3 separate regions of the Homo sapiens genome follow, and all the other regions are linked to region 2. The links are contacts of gene promoters, found by promoter capture Hi-C in blood cells and fetal thymus (Javierre and others, 2016). All regions are on one chromosome and are shown on one strand. Each heading gives the region's core, a stretch centred on a gene start or on the middle of the fragment in contact. The rest is flanking DNA. Distances are from core to core; before and after follow the strand shown. Region 1 has its middle 6.7 kb from the start of CMTM7. Region 2 holds the start of CNOT10 (CCR4-NOT transcription complex subunit 10). Region 3 holds the start of CMTM8 (CKLF like MARVEL transmembrane domain containing 8).

What was found. Contacts are between HindIII fragments. The CHiCAGO score rates a contact against its expected background, and 5 or more counts as called.
Region 1: a contact is called between a fragment that was not itself captured here and the fragment with the promoter of CNOT10 in region 2, in 1 of 17 cell types (neutrophils). The highest score is 8.6, in neutrophils.
Region 3: a contact is called between the fragment with the promoter of CMTM8 here and the fragment with the promoter of CNOT10 in region 2, in 2 of 17 cell types (non-activated CD4 T cells and activated CD4 T cells). The highest score is 6.0, in non-activated CD4 T cells.

Annotation. Positions count from the first base shown.
Region 1 is chr3:32,383,577-32,386,673 of GRCh38, reverse strand. No RefSeq gene overlaps it. Among named protein-coding and RNA genes, the nearest start is that of CMTM7, 6.7 kb to the left of the region's middle. The HindIII fragment of the contact is 6,743 bases long and covers 1-3,097 here.
Region 2 is chr3:32,683,935-32,686,818 of GRCh38, reverse strand. It overlaps CNOT10 (CCR4-NOT transcription complex subunit 10), which reads right to left and starts at 1,631. Exons shown (of 19, transcript NM_015442.3): 1 at 1,337-1,631. The coding sequence starts at 1,358. RefSeq lists a silencer at 1,521-1,830. The HindIII fragment of the contact is 5,126 bases long and covers 1,074-2,884 here.
Region 3 is chr3:32,237,384-32,240,368 of GRCh38, reverse strand. CMTM8 (CKLF like MARVEL transmembrane domain containing 8) reads right to left here and starts at 1,689. Exons shown (of 4, transcript NM_178868.5): 1 at 1,250-1,689. The coding sequence starts at 1,396. RefSeq lists a silencer at 1,676-1,885. The HindIII fragment of the contact is 4,195 bases long and covers 968-2,985 here.

The sequences.
Region 1 (3,097 bases), core at 373-2,872, 300 kb after region 2:
CCAGACTCTAGAACTCTGAGAAAATAAATTTCTGGTGTTTAAGCCACCTGGCCATGGCATTTTGTTAGGAAGTCTGAGCTATGCCAGGCAGACAAAGGCATCAGGTGTCCATGAAACTCTTCCAATATCAGCCTTTAAAATCCTTTTCCAGTGAATTTCTTTATTTGTTTGTTTATTTATTTATTTATTTATTTATTTATTTATTTATTTTTGAGATGGAGTCTCACTCTGTCGCCCAAGCTGGAGTGCAGTGGCGCGATCTCGCCTCACTGCAAGCTCCGCCTCCTGGGTTCATGCCATTCTCCTGCCTCAGCCTCCTGAGTAGCTGGGACTACAGGCACCCGACACCATGCCCAGCTAATTTTTTGAATTTTTAGTAGAGACGGGGTTTCACCGTGTTAGCCAGGATGGTCTCAATCTCCTGACCTTGTGATCCGTCCGCCTCGGCCTCCCAAAGTGCTGGGATTACAGGTGTGAGCCACCGCGCCTGGCCTCCAGTGAATTTTTAAAAAGTTTATTAGGTTCCGTAAACCAGTCAAACTCTCAGGTCCTTCTGAGAATCACCAATCAGCTGCCTTATATCCATTGGAAATTTATTGCATCAGGCTGGCTCCTGAGCCAAGGGCAGCCCATCAGTGGGTTGGCCAGTAGTGTTTGGAGTGGCCTTATAAGGGAACTTTGCCTAGTAAGAGTGGGAGCTCCACTGATGATCCTCTGTCCTGCGGAGTTTGAATGTGAGGCATTGAGAGGGGTTTAGCAATTGGGACATAGAGAGAAGGTGGAAGCCAGGAGGCTGGTTGGGCCATGAGAGGAAATAAGGAGAGGCAGAGCAGAAGAGAGTGGCTGAGGCCCAGCAGAGGGAGAGCGGCATGTACTCACCACAGCGGGGCCAGCCAGGATACCTGGTCTTTAGCGCCAGGTGGGACCCTGAAACCTTTGTCTTTGTGCTGCCTGGCTGTGTGGCTGAGAGGCAGGACTCTGGAACCAAACTGCCTGGGTTTGGCCCTTAGTTCCATCACTTGCTAGATGTGCAACCTTGGGCAAGCCTCTCTCAGCCTCCATTTCCTTCTCTGTAAAGAGGAACAACAATAGAAATGACCCCTCAGGGTAACTGCGAGATCTAAATGGGATAAGACATATGGAAACGGTCTAGAGTAGCATCTGGCTCATAGTAGTAAATGTTACCTATTTTATCATTTTTCCTAAGTCCTTATGTATCGAACAATGAGGCTTCATTATCTGAGGGCTGAGGGACTCCTGTACGTTGCCATTTCCATAACCATAAGCATCAAAGACCATCTTCAAGGGTGAAATAAAAGATTTCTTGGATTTAGGTAATCCAAGGAATTTTGAGAGCTGCTGGGGAAAAGTTTTACTGAGAGAGGAAGGGAGGAGAGGAGGATTCACCTTGTTATTTGCTCACAACCCTCACTCAGCAAATGTTACGGAGAGCCTTCCACATGCCTGACTGAACACTTCCCAGAAGAGGAACTCCCTCCCCCAGGGAGTTTGTAACCATAGCAACACAGGGAAATAGAGTCAGATAACCGAGGAGGCTGTGGTCGTCATCTCTGTCATCTCTGTTGGGAGGAGTCGAGGTCTGGGTTAGACGGCTCCCTGTTTGTGTCCAGTATTTAGCAGAGTGCCTGGCCCAAAGTAGTACTCAGTTTATATTTGTGGGATTAATGCAGAGCTGTAGCATCCCTGTAAGGGATGGCCCAAAGCTGGGAGTAACCAGCTTGTCTTGAACTGGGAGGAGAAAGTTTCAAAAAAGAATATGTGCTTGGAACTAGGTCTTGAAGGGCGATTAAAAATTTATGGGGTGGGCAAAAGAGGGAATGACATATGTCAAGAAAGGAGGCATGAAACCGCACCACGGATTCCAGGAATTCCCAGTCCTTTGGCGTGGCTGGAGTGTGGGGACTTGGGGAAAAGGGCTGGGGACCTTGGCTGGAGAGATACCACAGGACTGTGGATGCCCACCTTAGGATTTGTGCTTTATGTAGACAATGAACACTGTGAGGATCAAAGGGGTTAAGATATGTCAAATGCTGAGAACTGTTGCTGACAGTAAGATGATGAGTATGATGATGATAATGAGATCTCTTTTTTATCTTTCCTTAGCCCATGCTGTCATTTGCAATCACCTGTGAAACCTATGAAAACTATACCTGCCCAGGCTCAGCCTTGGAGATTCTGATTCAGTGTGCTCAGGCGGGGCTGGACATCCATGTTTGGGAAGAGTTGCGCGGGTGATTTCGATGCGTATATGACCCTGGTTGAAAACTGCTAACCTGGCAAATGCCCGCCAGTCTCACAAAGTCCAGCCAAAATGTTACGGCCTCTGAGAAGCCTTCTGTGAGTGATGAGCAATCCCCATGGCAATATTTATTGAGCACTGACAAAGTGCCAGGACCTGTGTCAGGCACAGGAGTACATGTTCTTTGCCCAGACTGAGAAAACAGGCAATATGTATGAAAAATGCTAATGATAGAATAAAAGTGGGGTACTATGGGAGCCCATGGGGAGATACCTTACCCTGTCAGGGATGTGATGGGGAAGTCAGGGAAGGCTTCCTGGAGGAGGGGCCATCTTAGCTGCATACTGAAGGATAAAGAGGTGTTAACCAGCCTTGGGTGGGTGGAGAAGAGAGTTCCAGGTAAGTACTCGGGCATGACAGATTAGAGGGGATGAAGTTCATGCAGGCTTAAGCATGAGGTCCAAAGAAGTGGGAGATGCTACATGAGGCTAGATAGGTGGCAAGACAATATGGCAAATGTGGGTGAGTTACCTGACTCCTGTATGTGCACCCAGCCCTTTGCCCACACTGGAAGTGTGTGACATATCTCACTTTAGTTGACTCTTTTGAGACTGGGAGCTCATAGAAAGAAGTCATGTGTGGAAACTCGGCAGTCAGGGTCATGCTGCCTTGGGTTTAAATCCTAAATCTGCCACCTACCAGCTCTGTGAAGCTGGGAAATTTCTAAACCCAGATGGGACAGATGGGTCAACCTTTCCCATCTGTCCCAATGGGAATGAAAACTCATACCAATGTTTGCTAATCCAATTATTTTCTGCTGCATATCAAAGCAACCCA
Region 2 (2,884 bases), core at 382-2,881:
TAGGTCTAAAAGGGTGATTTCGGGCAAGCGCAATGGTATGAGCAAGTAGGAATGGTAAATGTGGGGAACACAGACACTATTCTAAAATAAGGAGGAAGATGTTGGTCCCCTGGTCCAGCCTTGGACAGGCCATGCCGTTTTCCTGTCTAATAGTCTCTCCCTCATCCACCTTTCCTCATTTCTTATGGCTCATTCCCTCACTTCTTACATATCTCTGCTCAAATATCATCTCACCAGAGGCCTTCCCTGAACAACCTATCCAAAATTTCACAGCACATTCCTTATACCCTCTCAAGGCCTTTGTTCTGTTGTTTTTCTTCTTAGATTATTGAAGAGATCCTCTAATGATTTTTATTCCTCTGTACCTAAAATAGAATTGGCTTAATTTCCAAGTGAAGTTCATTTGTCAGTTATTGTGACCAGAACCTACTAAAATCCACAGCACACTGAGTTTTTCTTTAATTTTAAATTAAATTCACTGTAAAAATTTTAAGTTCCATCACTTTTAAATCCTGTCACTTAAGTTCTTTCCAATAAAACCTGGATGCCACAAAGAATATGAATTTCTTGCGGGAAACATTCCGGACAAGGTCAGGAAATAATTTTATATTCCTTAATGTGGAAGATTCTAGGAATGGGAGCAATAATCCATAAAGAAAACCATTGAGATTAAGTAATTTCGAGGAACTAGAGCAATTAAGTACCAAATGCAAGATTTTAGGAGCACAGACTGTAGAGAGACAATAGGATTTTATGCCTTTTTAAATAAGTGGTTTACTTTGAGAGGCCAAGGCGGAAGGATCGCTTGGGCCCAGAAGTTCGAGATCAGCCTGGGCACCATAGCGAGACCCCCGCCCGTCTCTATCAAGAAAAAAAAAAGTGGTTTTTACAAAGTTAATTTCACAGGAGTCAATGACCAGAGGAAGCCACATGTGGTCAAAACAGCCCAGGTGAATCCCAGCCTCAGCCACGCGATATTATAGGCAGATGTGTGCTCCAGGGTGACTTTCTCTTGTCTGCTTTTCCCACGAAGAAGCGGAAAATTCTGCGAAGCGGCAAAATACATTTAAGCTTTTTGGGCCGGAGTTATTCTGAAGAGCAGGGCAAAGGCGGCCAGTGGCGACTTCAAATACTGCACTTGAGTAAAACAACTATTGGACCCGGGGCCCGAAGACTCATGTTAGCGACAGCCGAGACAGAGGATGGGGTAAAGAAATGCACGCCCAAATTCAAGTCGCCCTGGAGTCCCCACCCCGGGCCCCGCCGCCTCCGAGTTCAGGGTCCGCCCGGCCCCGCACGTCCCGCCGTCTCGTCGCTCGGGACATTGGCGCCCTACCTGCAGGCTTGTCTGCAGCCATCTTCCCGCTTCGACTCGGGTTCTTCCCTGCAGGTGGCGTGGCCCTGACTCCCGCCGCCGGGCTGGCCGCTGTCCTGGACCTCCGAGGACAACTCTGTGCCTACCCCGGCTCCGGGCCCCCAGGTTCCGGCTAGAGGAGTGGGCAGACGGCGGGCTGAGGAAGTGACGAGAGCTAGTTCCCGTCGTCTAGCAACAGCAACAGCTTCCCCACCAAGGGACCGCCACAGCCTCCCGCCATACACAGCTTCCGCCTCACGGCGTCCCGGTACCCACTACTTCCGGGGGCGGCAGCCTGCCGCGCCTGGAGCGCCGGCGTGGGAACTGCTACTGGCCCCGCCCCACGCCGACGTCCCCTCCGCGCCCCGCCTCCGGCCGGACGTACTCTGGCTGGAACCTCTGGATGTTCACAGGGCTGACGCGGTGGGACGTACGCGCGTCTGTCCTTTGCTTACTCTAATTAAAACACCGAGGTGTCAGAGCTTTTGTCCCTCAATGTTACATAATATTACAATAACCACATCTGACATTTATGTGCTAAGCACTGAGCCCTGCACTTGGTCTGTACTATCTCATTGATTTCTTGCAACCCCATGAGAGAGGCGCTGTTGAGGATTCCCGTTTAAAAAGAAACGCCTTTTATTTTAGAATAGTTGTAGTTGTGCAGAAAAGTTGCAAAGATGACACCTAGAGTTCCTGTCTCCTCACCTAGTTTCTCCTATTGTGAACATCTTAATTATTTTACTATGTTACGTTGATCACATCTAAGAAACCAGTTTGATTGGCGCACTATTACTCACTAAACTACACATTTTATTCACATTTACCAGCTTTCTTTCAATGTCCTTTTTTTGTTGTTGTTCCAGGATCCTGTCCAGGACACCATATTGCATTTATTCATTATGTCGTCTTAGGCTATTTTTGGCTGTGGCAGTTTCTCAGATTCTTCTTGTTTTTGATGACCTTGACAGTTTTGAAGAGTTACTCCTCAGATATTTGGTGGAATGTGCCTCAATTTGGGTTTGGCCAATATTTTTCTCATGGTTAGACTGGGGTTTTGGGTGTTTAGGAGGAAGACCACAAGGTGACTGGCTGTTCTCATCACATAGAATCAAGGGTACATGCTGTCAAAATGACATCACTGATCATGTTAACCTTGATTACCTCTCTAAGGTAGTGCTTGCCAGTTTTCTCTACTGTGCAATTACTCCTCCTACCCTTCCACACTACTTTGGAACCAAGTCAATAAATGCAACCCACACTCAAGGTGGGAAGGCGGGGTATTTAAGCTCTACCTCCTGCAGTGGGGAGTATGTACATAAATTATCTTCCCCAAGGGAAGTTTGCCTCTTCTCCCTCACTTAGCTATTTATATCAGTATGGACTCATGGATGTTTATCTTATAATGGTTACATTCCAATACTACATTATTTTGTTGCTAAAATTGTCCCAGCTTTGTTAATTGGGAGATTTTTCAGGTTTGTACCTGTTTTTTTCTTTTTTTTTAACTTTTGTTTTAAACTTTCTTTT
Region 3 (2,985 bases), core at 440-2,939, 450 kb after region 2:
CTTCAGCTTTTGAGTCTCCTGAAGTCCTCAATACTCGCTGAGGGAACCAGCTGGGAGAGGAGCTAAGCCAACACTTCTCATACCTTATGTGCATTATGACCACCAGGGGCTTCATAGAGCAGGTCCGGGTGGTATCTGAGACTGGGGGAGCAAGCAAGCTACTTGAGGTACACAAGATTTACTTCAGGTTTCTCAAAGGAACCGCCCAGGTCTTCAGTCACTTCTGCACCATGATGGTGTGCCCATTCTCTAACTCCCACATAGGCTCATTTTCAATTCCCAAATATTTAACAAAAGTCTGTGAGAGATGACAGAGGGGCACTGCTGGGGCAGCTGGAAGCTGTCTCAACTGCTTGCAGTTATGAGCACGGCCCTGCAGAAAGGCAGGCCTGGGTTTGAATCCATGCTTCACCATCCACCGGTGTGATTTACGTCCCCTCTCTAGGCCTTCACAGGGGAGGGTGGTCGTTGGATTACACGAGGGTATGAGGACATCTAAAGGGCTTGACAAGATCCTGGTACACGAAGAAGACTCAAACAGTGACCACCTCTAACTGCTGACAGGACTCCAGTCCTTTCTCAGCTATGAAGGACTGGCTGGGACTTCTGGGAAGATCACGTGAGTTTTCAGCCTCTATGCCCTCCAATGAAGAGAAGAACGCCCATGCCCTGCCTCCTTCCCAGGAATGTTCTGAGCCTAAACCAGGATGTGCACAGCACCATGCAAAAGACCTCTTTGGTCCTAAAATAGGTTATGGCACTCAGATTTTATTCAGTAAAATTTTCCTGACTCACCTCAATGTTACTACCAGGGAGATAATTAGGAAAAGAAAGAAGCCCTTTCCTCTTCCCCTGATCTTAGGAAGCTTTATTTTCAGGGAGGAGGCCATCCACGTGGAGATCAGGTGAGAAAGGCACCAGGTGTCTCTGACACTCAACACAAACTCAATAGCCACTAAGCCAAGCTTCCTGCTCCCAGGATCTGCCGCCGCCACCGAGAGGACCCAACAAGCTGAATTTCTCCCACAGCAAGACATCCTGAGGATCACAACCCTTTCTTCCCAGGACAGCCCGAGTTTCCTGGACCTTGTTTAGAGTCTTTCACTTTGGGAAGAAGGCGAGGCTGAGCAAAAACGGTTCCCTAAAGCCCGCGGGAAGATCTGAGCAGGCTCCATCCCGAGAAGCACGGCGGAAGCACGCGCCGGGGTCCAGCTGAGCCCCCCGCCACCCCCGGCCCGTCGGCACTCACGATCTCGGCCACGATGAGGAAGCCGGGCAGGGTGCGGAGGAACTCCCGGTCGTAGGCGAAGCTGCTGCTGCTGGTGGAGAAGTTCTCTGCGAAGGAGCTGGCGGTGGTGGTGACTGTGTGCGAGCGGGCGCGCTGCGGCTCCTCCATCGTCGAGCCACTGCCGGGCTGGCGCGTCCCCAGGGACCCCGGCGGGTCTGGGGCTGGACGCGCGGCCCTGCGCCCTGGGGACACAGGCGCGGGGGAGGGGAGCGCGGCCCGCGCGGGGCAGGAGGTGCGAGGGGGGCGCCCGCCGGGGGCTGTCCAGGCGCGGCGGGTGTCCCTCTAGTGCGCGGTGCCCCTAGCGCCTCGGTGCGCGGGCTCCCGAGCTGCGCTGGGGCCCTAGAGGAAGAGGAGAGCGAGCGAGGGGAGGCTGCCGGGCAGCCGGGGAAGGCGGTGGAGGCCCGGAGGAGGGGAGGGGGCGGGGAGAGGGGCGGGCGGGAGGCGGGCAGGAGAGGGACCGCCCCGCGGAGGCGCCGCGGACGCCCGCCCTCTTCACCTGTTGCCCGACTCCCAGCGGCGGAGAAGGCGCCGCGTCGCACCCAGGGTGGCTGGGTTGGCAGCCTGGCGGGCGGCGCGGAGGAGAGGGCGCAGGGGTCCTTCTGGCCGTCTTCCGCTCCCCCTCCCGGCCTTTACTTCTGTCAGGCCCCGCCTGGCCCAGGCCCGCAGCCTGTTTCCTTCCACCTGGGCGGGTCGGGGGCTGCGGGCATTGGGGCCCCTTAAGGAAACCCAGGCCTCCAGGGACTCCGCCGCTCCAGGACTCGGCGCGGAGGGAATGACTGAGCGACGACCGAGGCAGGGGGTGATGTGGTACCTCGAATGCTGTGGAAATGGCAGGAATGATGACCCGGCCGGACCTTAGACCCGAGATCGATGAGAGGCCGCCAGCACTGCCCGGGAGACGGCCCGCTCTTCTCCCCCTCCTGCTGCGGCCGCCGCCAGAGCCCGGTGTTATTTCCTGCCCCTCCTGTCGGGAACAATTTGAGGAACCAACTTAATCGCTTGGCTTTGAGGGCGCGACGCTTCCAGGCGCTCTCCGCGGCTCTGTCCCGCGGACCGGTGGAGCCTGGGTGACGGCGCCTGGGCCGGAGGAGGGGAGATGTTTGGGGTCCCTGGCCAGGATGAATCAGCGTAACCGTCCCGTCACCCTCGGGGAAAAAAAATGTTTCAAGAAGGCTTGAAGGGTGTGATTTGTGTAATGTTAACTTTAGGACAAATGAGCTGTGCTTTCCTGGCATGGGAAGGGGATGGGGGTCCTCATTTAGTGAGGCAGTTTGTAACAGGGTCAGGGAAGAACTGAGCTCGGCTGCGTGCGTTTATCGGCTGTATGACCCAGAGCGAGTGGCTCTAGTTTTTGGACCTCAGTAATGCCATCTCTAAAATGCAGGCTTTGACAGATGGACCTCTGAACAAAAAGATTATCTTCCGCTTGGTCCCTCCTTCTATTTTGTGAAAGGGTAGCAAGAAACATTTTATCTGGAAGCCACCAAAAGAAAAGGAAATAATCTTTGGCTATAAATCGAGGGTATCTTTGATTCACAGTGAAGGCATTTCTGCTGATCTGTTCCAAGACAGGTTAAAAACGAGATCAGAAGGGACATTTTCTTCACAGTGTCTTATCAAGTGTGCTGAGAAGAAAGCAAAAACGACAATCTAATAAAATAAAACAAGGAATTAGTGTCTTTTAAGTCTAGGGCCTA